Regions from separate parts of the Homo sapiens genome. Here regions 1 and 3 are each linked to region 2. Evidence: promoter capture Hi-C in 16 types of primary human blood cells and fetal thymus (Javierre and others, 2016). All regions are on one chromosome and are shown on one strand. Each heading gives the region's core, a stretch centred on a gene start or on the middle of the fragment in contact. The rest is flanking DNA. Distances are from core to core; before and after follow the strand shown. Region 1 overlaps NLRC4 (NLR family CARD domain containing 4). Region 2 holds the start of BIRC6 (baculoviral IAP repeat containing 6). Region 3 overlaps BIRC6 (baculoviral IAP repeat containing 6).

Region 1 (3,385 bases), core at 445-2,944, 110 kb before region 2:
CCAATTTCCCAGATAACAGGGAAAAAAATTTCCTTTTTTTTTTTTTTTTTTTTTTTTTGAGACAGAGTCTTGCTCTGTCGCCCAGGCTAGAGTGCAGTGGCGCAATCTCAGCTCACTGCCAGCTCCACCTCCCGGGTTCACACCATTCTCCTGCCTCAGCCTCCCAAGTAGCTGGGACTACAGGCACCTGCCACCACGCCCGGCTAATTTTTTTTGTATTTTTAGTAGAGACGGGGTTTCACCATGTTAGCCAGGATGGTCTCAATCTCCTGACCTCGTGATCCGCCTGCCTCGGCCTCCCGAAGTGCTGGGATTACAGGCGTGAGCCACTGCGCCTGGCCGATAACAGGGAAATTTCTAAACACTTGGAAATTAAACAACACATTTTTAAATAATCATGCATTAAAGAAGAAGTCTCATGGAAACTTTGATAATATTTTGAAAAATATAAAAATAAAAACAAAACTTCAAAATCTGCAGCTCTCTCCTCACAAAGGGGTGAAAAGAAAAAAAAATCTGCAGCTAACACAGTGCTTACAGGGACATTTACAGTATTGCATACTTATATTAGAAATGAGGAAAGGCCTCAAATCAACAACCTAGGCATACTACTTAAGAAATTACAGAAAAGAGAGCAAAATAAATGAAAGAAGAAAGAAAATAATAAAGATAAGGGTGCAAATCAAAGTTATTATGCCTTTATTATACAAATTAAAAACAGAGGCAAGGTCTCACTATGTTGCCCAGGCTGGTCTCGGACTCCTGAGCACAAGTGATCCTTTGGCCTCAGCCTCCCAAAGTGCTAGGATTACAGGCGTGAGCCACCATGCCCAGCCCAGAAATCAAAATTATAAACAGGTAAACAATAGAAAAAAATCAATGAAGCTAAAAGTTGGATCTTTGAAAAGATCAATAAAATTTAAAAATTTCTACCAAGACTGACAAAGAAAAAGAAGACAAAAATTACCAATATCAGAAACAAAAAAGGGGATATCACTACACACACTGCAGATATTAAAAGGACAATTAGAGAATAATATAAACAAATCTATGCACATAAATTTGACAACATATATGAAATTGACCAATTTTTTGAAAACCACAAACTACCAACACTCATGTGATACGGAGTAGGTAACCGGAATAACCTTATAGCTATTAAAGAAATTGAATTTGTTATCTAAAATTTCCCGGAAAAGACATCTGTAGGCACAGATATGTTCACTTGCAAATTCTGCCACACATTTTCATTTTTTTCCTTCTATCAACTGTCTTCATATCTACCACACATTTAAAGAAGAAATAACACCAATTCTACACAGTCACTTCCAGAAAATAGAAGTACAAAGAATAATTCCCAACTCATTTTATGAAGCCATCATTAACTTGATATGAAAACCAGAAAAAGACGTAGAAGAAAAACTTTTAGGCCAGGCACAGTGGCTCACTCCTATAATCCCCGTGCTTTGGGGGGCAGAGGTAGGAGGATCACTTGAGGCCAGGAGTTTGAGACCAGCCTGGGCAATATATCCAGACCCTATCCCTACAAAATATTTTTTAAATTACCCAGGTGTGGTGGCAGGTGTGAGTAGTCCTGGCTACTCAGGAGGCTGAGGCAAGAGAATCGCTTGAGCCCAGGAGTTCAAGATTGCAATGAAGTGTGATGACACCACTGCACTCCAGCCTTGGTGACAGAATGAGACAATGTCTTTAATGAAAGAAAGAGAGAGAGAGAGAGAATAGAGAAAGAAAGGAGGGAGGGAAGGACGGAAAAGAAAAGAAAGAAAATTGAGGCTGGGCGAGGTGGCTCACACCTGTAATCCCAGCACTTTGGGAGGGCGAGGCAGGCAAATCACGAGGTCAGGAGTTTGACACCAGCCTGGCCAACATGGTGAAACTCCGTCTCTACTAAAAATACAAAAAATCAGCTGGGTGTAGTGGCAGGCGCCTGTAATCCCAGCTAGTCCAGAGGCTGAGGCAGGAGAATCGCTTGAACCCAGGAGGCAGAGGTTGCAGTGAGCTGAGATCGCACCACTGCACTCCAGCCCTGGTGACAGAGTGAGACCCCATCTCGAAAAGAAAGAAAGAAAATTAAACTTTAGACCAATATCATTCATGAATACAGAATCAAAAATCTTCAACAAAATAGAAAATGGAATTCAGTCATGCATAAAAGAATATTACGGCAGGCGTGGTGGCTCACACTTGTAATCCCAGCACTTTGGGAGGCCGAGGCAGGTGGATCACAAGGTCAGGAGTTTGAGACCAGCCTGGCCAACATGGTGAAACCCTGTCTCTACTAAAAATACAAAAATTAGCTGGGCGTGGTGGCGCGCCTGTAGTCCCAGCTACTTGGGAGGCTGAGGCAGGAGAATTGCTTGAACCCAGGAGGCGGCGGTTGCAGTGAGCCGAGATCGCATCATTGCACTCAGCCTGGTGACACAGCAAGATTCCATCTCAAAAAAAAAAAAAAAAAGAATATTACACCACCTCCAAATGGGCTTCATATAGGGAATGCAGGATGCTCAATATGTGGAAATCAATCCATATAATTCATTATATTGGCAGTCTAAAAGTAAAACTACGTGATCCCATAAATTGATGCAGAAAACACATGTGACATAATCCAACATCCAGGCTAGGTGGCTCACGCCTGTAATCCCAGCACTTCGGGAGGCCCAGGCGGGAAAATCTCTTGAGCACAGGAGTCCAAGACCAGCCTGGGCAACATAGCGAGAACTCGTCTCTACAAAAAATTTAAAAATTAACCAGATGTGATAGTTCACACTTATGGTCCCAGCTAGTCAGGAGGCTGAGGTGGGTGGATCTGTTGAGCCCAGGAAGTCAAGGCTACAGTGAGCTATGATCACGCCACTGCACTCCAGCCTGGGTGACAGAACAAGACCCTGCCTCAAAAATAATCTAAAAATAATTTAATAAAAACAATCCAACATCCATCCATGTAAAATGACATGATCATATAAATGGATACAGAAAACATCTTTAGCACAATCCAACACCTATTCATGACCAAAAAAAAAAAATTCTCAGCAACTTGATAAAAGACACCTACAAGAAAACTACATTTAACATTATACTTAAAGGTGAAAGTCTGAATGCTTTCTCCCTAAGGTCAGGAACAAGGCAAGATGTTAATTCATGTCACTATTCAACATTGTACTACAAGTCCTAGTTAGTGAAATAAGGCAAAAAAAAAAAATAAATAAAAGGAATACAGATTGGAAGGGAAGAATTTAAAATCATTCTTTTCGAAGATAACATGATTGTCTATGATAAAAATGTCAAGGAATCTACAACACCCCCTTCTGCAAACCCCACAAAAAAAACCCTTCTAAAACTGGCTGGGTGCAGTGGCTCATACATA
Region 2 (3,104 bases), core at 588-3,087:
TTAACCAGGTTTTGACTGGAATGTCATATTTTCAAACATGACCAGATGGCATTAAGGAGCTATGGTTGACTTTATGGAGCCAATAAAGTCTTCGTTTGAAAAACTGGCCTGATTGTTCCCAGACTTACAGGTGAGTGGCCTGAGTGGCCGGGCGCGGGGGCTCACACCTGTAATCCCAGCACTTTGGGAGGCCGAGGCAGGTGGATCACGAGATCAGGAGTTCAATACCAACCTGGCCAAGATGGTGAAACCCCATCTCTACTAAAAATACAAAAAAAAAAAAAAAAAAAAATTAGCCAGGCGTGGTGGCAGGTGCCTGTAATCCCAGCTATTCAGGAGGCTGAGGCCGAGAATTGCTTGAATCCAAGAGGCAGAAGTTGTAGTGAGCTGAGATCACGCCACTGCACTCCAGCCTGGGCGACGGAGTGAGACTCCGTCTCAATAAACAAACAAAAACAAACAAAAAAGCCAAAAAAAAAAAAAAAAAAGAACCACAGATGAGTAAGGAATGTCACTCTCTGGCAGGCCCAGGAACTTCAGTGTATTTTAGGGACCCCCAAGAAGAGAGGAATACAGTCAAATCTCTAAGTGTTTCAGATGTAGCCTGATGGCTAATAGTTTAAGATGTAGTTCAGGTAATCCATGAAGATTTCCTGAAGGAAGTTCGCATGAATGTGAGAGGGCAATTAACTTTTATAATTTTTATTGAGCACGTAGTATATACTTGTCAGATGCTCTTCTACACATTTTACAAATGATTCTTAATCCTCACAACAGATCTTTGATTAGGTTTTTAAGGAAAACTAGTTCTTTCCAAAATAACCTAATGATCACAAAACATATAGAACATACAACTCTGCATCTTGACTATGGTGCGTAGGTCTACATGTGATAAAATGACATTGAACTATACACACATCATACAACTATCAAATCCCTCCTTTTGAGATTGTACTAGAATTATGTAATATGCAACCATTGGGGGAAACTGGGTAAAGAGTAAATTGGATCTCTCTGTACTATCTTTGAGTAGTGTTTAGGTATTTTATAAAAATAATGTCCTACAGTTTGGGTTTGTCAAATGGTTTTCTCATAGTTAGATAGGGGTTATGGCTTTTGGAGAGAAAGACCACAGAGGTCTGTAGTATATTTTCAACTGTAATCTATTTCAAAATAAAAAGTTTTAAAAAAATTCTCCAAGGGGGGATGATTAGTAAATTGATTAGTCCTTTCTAGACCTCCAACACACCCCACCACACACTCACACAGACCCACACTCCTATTAATTCCGGTAACTCGGGTTGTTTGGAATGTGGATAGAGAAACTAAGCTTAACTATGCGCTTCCAGCACCTCGTATCTGGTACTTCTGTTCAACAGAAAGCCTTGGGAATGGGGAGGGCAGGCGTGGTAAAAGGTACAGGTTTGGGAAGGTCGCTCGGTTCCTTCCAATCCAAACGAGAGGCTTCTGATTGTTTATTCTCACACCAGAGCCGTGACCGAGACCCAGAGGTCCGCTTCCGGCCACGGCCGAACAGCTGCACCGTGCGTACCGGGAACGGTCAAGGCGCAGCTGGAACCGCTGCAAAAGGCCTCCGGGCGTACCGGACAGGTCGCAAGGGCGGGGGTCCCCACCTAGCGGAAATGCACGGAGGCCAACCCCTCCCCCTGCCCCCGCGAGGAGCGGGGCGGACTCGGCAGCCGCCACTCCCCAGGCTCACAGGAAGAAACTGGGACGCTGCGGACGCGGAACTGGCCAGACCCGCGGCGCGTGGCACGCGCGAGCCCTCCCGCGCATGCTCCACCCGCCGGCCTCCAGCCCGCGCCCCGGGCCCCGCCTCCCTCCCTGCTTCTCCCCCTCTCCCGTCAGCCTCCCTCCGAGTTTGGCCCCTCCGGCCGGGCGATCGACGTTCCGCGTGCGTGCGGGCGCCTGACTTCACTTCCGGCTAACGCGCTCGGCTTGCCCCCTGGCCCCGGATGGTGACTGGTGGTGGTGCTGCACCTCCCGGGACTGTCACTGAGCCGCTTCCCAGTGTGATTGTGCTGAGCGCAGGCCGGAAGATGGCGGCTGCGGCTGCGGCGGCCTCGGGCCCCGGCTGCTCCTCGGCGGCGGGGGCGGGGGCGGCCGGGGTCTCAGAGTGGCTGGTGCTGCGGGACGGCTGCATGCACTGCGACGCCGACGGGCTGCACAGCCTGTCCTACCACCCTGCGCTCAACGCCATCCTGGCCGTCACTAGCCGCGGGACCATCAAAGTCATCGACGGCACCTCGGGGGCCACACTGCAGGCCTCCGCGCTCAGTGGTGAGTCTTCCGCACGCCGGGCGGGCGCGAAGCCGGGGAAAGAAGCCGTCCAGCCCCGGGGCTCGGCCTCGCGACTCGGGGAAGCGAGATGGCGAGAGGGCAGGGCTGGGGGTTCGGGCCCAGCCGTGAAGGGAGGCCCGGAAGCTGATGGAGGGGGACCTTAGGACTTGGCTTTTTCAGCGGCTGCAGTTGGGAGGAAAGACCGGCGAGTCAGGGAGTGGTGGGAGGGGAGTTGCCTTTCGGGCCTGGAGCGTCCGGTCTGGCTTGGTCCTCCGCGAGAGGTGAGGAGACCTTGGAGCTTGGCACCGGAGGAAGCGAGGCCCGGGTAGGCCCTGGAGAGGCTGTCGGTCCTGCGTCCGGTTAGATGAGAGCGAAAGGCTGGAAGGGTTGACCCCGGGCGGAGAGGCTGGTGGCCGGAGGCGAGGGGCGGGGAGCGTCTGAGCCGGCAACCAAGCCCTCCCTTGTGGGAGAGGAGCCGGCAGTCTGCTGTTCTCAGGTCCCGCAGTGCGGGGGACAGACCGCGGGCTGTGCGCCCAGCGTGGGGGTGGGGGTGGGGTGGGGGTGGGGTGGGTCGTGGTGGGGGTGGGGAGGGAAGTAGGCGGGCCAGCTGCCTGAACTGCTTGGTCGACGACTGTAGGACTCTGCGGACGCCGAAGACGACTAGACCTGGTCCCCTTGCTCGGGGCTTCCAACTTCTACGCCCCAGTGACGAGAAAGTCAGGACCTGTGGTGTATGAAATAGATTCCTTTGGGTTTGTAACTTCAGGCTGTCTCTACTTGTTTTCCCACAGCGAGCCGAAAAT
Region 3 (3,325 bases), core at 481-2,980, 90 kb after region 2:
GCAAAAGGAAGTATTCTGATAAATAGGTAATCTTAAATTCTCATTGTTAGAGGAAAAGGAGGAAAAAGAAACATTTATTTTGTTTTTATTGTTTCCAGGTTCTGTCTATTGGTATTTTGTCTTACTGAATTATGTGAAAGATGAAGATCTGGCTGGATGCAGTACAGCTTGTGCATCTTTGCTTACTGCAGTGTCCAGACAGTTACAGGACAGGCTAACACCAATGGAGGCTTTACTTCAGACAAGGTATTTTAGTATATCTAATGACTAATAATAGGCGTCTCTGAGTATGATCACGCTTTTGCAGAGAACTGTTATTTAATATATATATGCTGATAACAGTCTTTTTCTTACAAAAATGTTTAGTTTATACCTTACTTTTTCCATACGATAATAGCCTGAGGTTTTACTTTCTTCTGTTTTGTCAGAAATTACTCTTTTTTTTTTTTATCGAGATGGAGTTTTGTTCTTGTTGCCCAGGCTGGAGTGCAATGGTGTGATCTCAGCTCACCACAACCTCCATCTCCCGGGTTCAAGCGATTCTCCTGCCTCAGCCTCCCGAGTAGCTGGGATTACAGGCATGCACCACAGGCCTGGCTAATTTTGTATGTTTAGTAGAGACGGGGTTTCTTCATGTTGGTCAGGCTGTTCGCAAACTCCCAACCTCAGTTGATCCGCCCGCCTCAGCCTCCCAAAGTGCTGGGATTACAGGCATGAGCCACCGTGCCCGGCCAGAAATTACTCTTTAACAGTTTGATAAATCCTTATGATGGTTATTCAGAGGGCTAATTTTATTTAATAATGAAAAGTGGTATGCCCTGCTAATGGAAGAAGAATGTAATGTGTCTGTTTCTCTGTGCACTTTATAGGTGGAATTATGTGAGTCACTTATTGTCCCATAACTAGTATTCTTCTACCTGCTACTTGTATTTCAAAACTTCTAACGTGATGAATTAAGCAATAGCAAAAGGTTAGATTTAAGTTCTTGCCTGATTGTCTACGTTTGAAGTAAGGCGTTCCTTTATTTAGAGCAGTGATTTTATAATTTCCTAGGTTAGATGTTCTGATTTTGATGACATTTTACTCAAAGCCTTTGTACTTGAGGCTATGTCGTAATGATTCACGGGAGAGAATGGTGCCTGATACCCCTCGCTTCAATCTGCAGGTGGCAGTCTTAGTACCTTAGTTGCCAGCTTATTGGAATCACATTTGTTGAGTCTCTGGACAGTGTCTTTTAGAGTATAGATTGCAGGGAACATAGTTGAGATTCACTGAATTTGATGGGTCAAATCTAGTCAGCATCTCCCTCTGCGCTGTTTTTTTTTTTTTTTTTTTTTTTTTTTTTTTTTATTGATCATTCTTGGGTGTTTCTCGCAGAAGGGGATTTGGCAGGGTCATAGGACAATAGTGGAGGGAAGGTCAGCAGATAAACAAGTGAACAAAGGTCTCTGGTTTTCCTAGGCAGAGGACCCTGCGGCCTTCCGCAGTGTTTGTGTCCCTGGGTACTTAAGATTAGGGAGTGGTGATGACTCTTAACGAGCATGCTGCCTTCAAGCATCTGTTTAACAAAGCACATCTTGCACCGCCCTTAATCCATTTAACCCTGAGTGGACACAGCACATGTTTCAGAGAGCACAGGGTTGGGGATAAGGTCACAGATCAACAGGATCCCAAGGCAGGAGAATTTTTCTTAGTACAGAACAAAATGAAAAGTCTCCCATGTCTACCTCTATCCACACAGACCCGGCAACCATCCGATTTCTCAATTTTTTCCCCACCCTTCCCGCCTTTCTATTCCACAAAACCGCCATTGTCATCATGGCCCATCCCCAATGAGCCGCTGGGCACACCTCCCAGACGGGGTCGTGGCCGGGCAGAGGGGCTCCTCACTTCCCAGTAGGGGCGGCCGGGCAGAAGCGCCCCTCACCTCCCGGATGGGGCGGCTGGCCGGGCGGGGGGCTGATCCCCCCACCTCCCTCCCGGACGGGGCGGCTGGCCGGGCGGGGGGCTGACCCCCCACCTCCCTCCCGGACTGGGCGGCTGGCCGGGCGGGGGGCTGATCCCCCCACCTCCCTCCCGGACGGGGCGGCTGGCCGGGCAGAGGGGTCCTCACTTCCCAGTAGGGGCGGCCGGGCAGAGGCGCCCCTCACCTCCCGGACGGGGCGGCTGGCCAGGCGGGGGGCTGATCCCCCCACCTCCCTCCCGGACGGCGCGGCTGGCCGGGCAGGGGGCTGACCCCCCCTCCCCCCTCCCGGACTGGGCGGCTGGCCGGGCGGGGGGCTGACCCCCCCCACCTCCCTCCTGGTCGGGGCGACTGGCCGGGCAGAGGGGCTCTTCACTTCCCAGTAGGGGCGGCCGGGCATAGGAGCCCCTCACCTCCCGGACGGGGCCGCTCGCCGGGCGGGCCCCCCTATCCCCCCACCTCCCTCCCGGACGGGGTCGCTGCCGGGCGGAGACGCTCCTCACTTCCCAGACGGGGTGGCTGCTGGACGGAGGGGCTCCTCACTTCTCAGACGGGGCGGTTGCCAGGCAGAGGGTTTCCTCACTTCTCAGACGGGGCGGCCGGGCAGAGGCGCTCCTCACATCCCAGACAGGGCGGCGGGGCAGAGGTGCTCCCCACCTCTCAGACGATGGGCGGCCGGGCAAAGACGCTCCTCACTTCCTAAATGGGATGGCGGCGGGGAATAGGCGCTCCTCGCTTCCTAGATGGGATGGCGGCCGGGCAAAAACGCTCCTCACTTTCCAGACTGGGCAGCCAGGCAGAGGGGCTCCTCATATCCCAGACGATGGGCGGCCAGGCAGAGACGCTCCTCACTTCCCAGACGGGGTGGCGGCCGGGCAGAGGCTGCAATCTCGGCTCTTTGGGAGGCCAAGGCAGGCGGCTGGGAGGTGGTTGTAGCGAGCCGAGATCACGCCACTGCACTCCAGCCTTGGCACCATTGAGCACTGAGTGAACGAGACTCCGTCTGCAATCCCGGCACCTCGGGAGGCCGAGGCTGGCGGATCACTCGCGGTTAGGAGCTGGAGACCAGCCCGGCCAACACAGCAAAACCCCGTCTCCACCAAAAAAAACCGAAAACCAGTCAGGCGTGGCGACGCGCGCCTGCAATGGCAGGCACTCGGCAGGCTGAGGCAGGAGAATCAGGCAGGGAGGTTGCAGTGAGCCGAGATCGCAGCAGTACAGTCCAGCTTCGGCTCGGCATCAGAGGGAGACCGTGGAAGGGGACCGTGGAGAGGGGAGAGGGGAGAGGGGAGAGGGGAGAGGGAGAGCCCTCTGCGCTGTTAGTCAGACTGCTTTTAAAACTAAGTAAAGGTAATTTGTTAA

Evidence for each region. The method cuts DNA at HindIII sites, captures the fragments that hold promoters and counts their contacts. A CHiCAGO score of 5 or more calls a contact.
Region 1: a fragment that was not itself captured here is called in contact with the fragment with the promoter of BIRC6 in region 2 in 2 of 17 cell types (neutrophils and M2 macrophages); the score reaches 6.3 in neutrophils.
Region 3: a contact is called between a fragment that was not itself captured here and the fragment with the promoter of BIRC6 in region 2, in 1 of 17 cell types (M2 macrophages). The highest score is 5.1, in M2 macrophages.

Annotation. Positions count from the first base shown.
Region 1 is chr2:32,241,337-32,244,721 of GRCh38, forward strand. The region is part of intron 4 of NLRC4 (NLR family CARD domain containing 4); the gene reads right to left. Among named protein-coding and RNA genes, the nearest start is that of NLRC4, 22 kb to the right of the region's middle. The HindIII fragment of the contact is 8,504 bases long and covers 1-3,385 here.
Region 2 is chr2:32,355,186-32,358,289 of GRCh38, forward strand. It overlaps BIRC6 (baculoviral IAP repeat containing 6), which reads left to right and starts at 1,838. Exons shown (of 74, transcript NM_016252.4): 1 at 1,838-2,301. The coding sequence starts at 1,977. RefSeq lists enhancers at 1,509-2,021, 2,536-3,048 and silencers at 1,525-1,894, 2,055-2,284. The HindIII fragment of the contact is 6,861 bases long and covers 1,329-3,104 here.
Region 3 is chr2:32,445,423-32,448,747 of GRCh38, forward strand. BIRC6 (baculoviral IAP repeat containing 6) reads left to right here. Exons shown (of 74, transcript NM_016252.4): 21 at 99-246. Among named protein-coding and RNA genes, the nearest start is that of MIR558, 85 kb to the right of the region's middle. RefSeq lists an enhancer at 1,843-2,420. The HindIII fragment of the contact is 4,466 bases long and covers 1-3,325 here.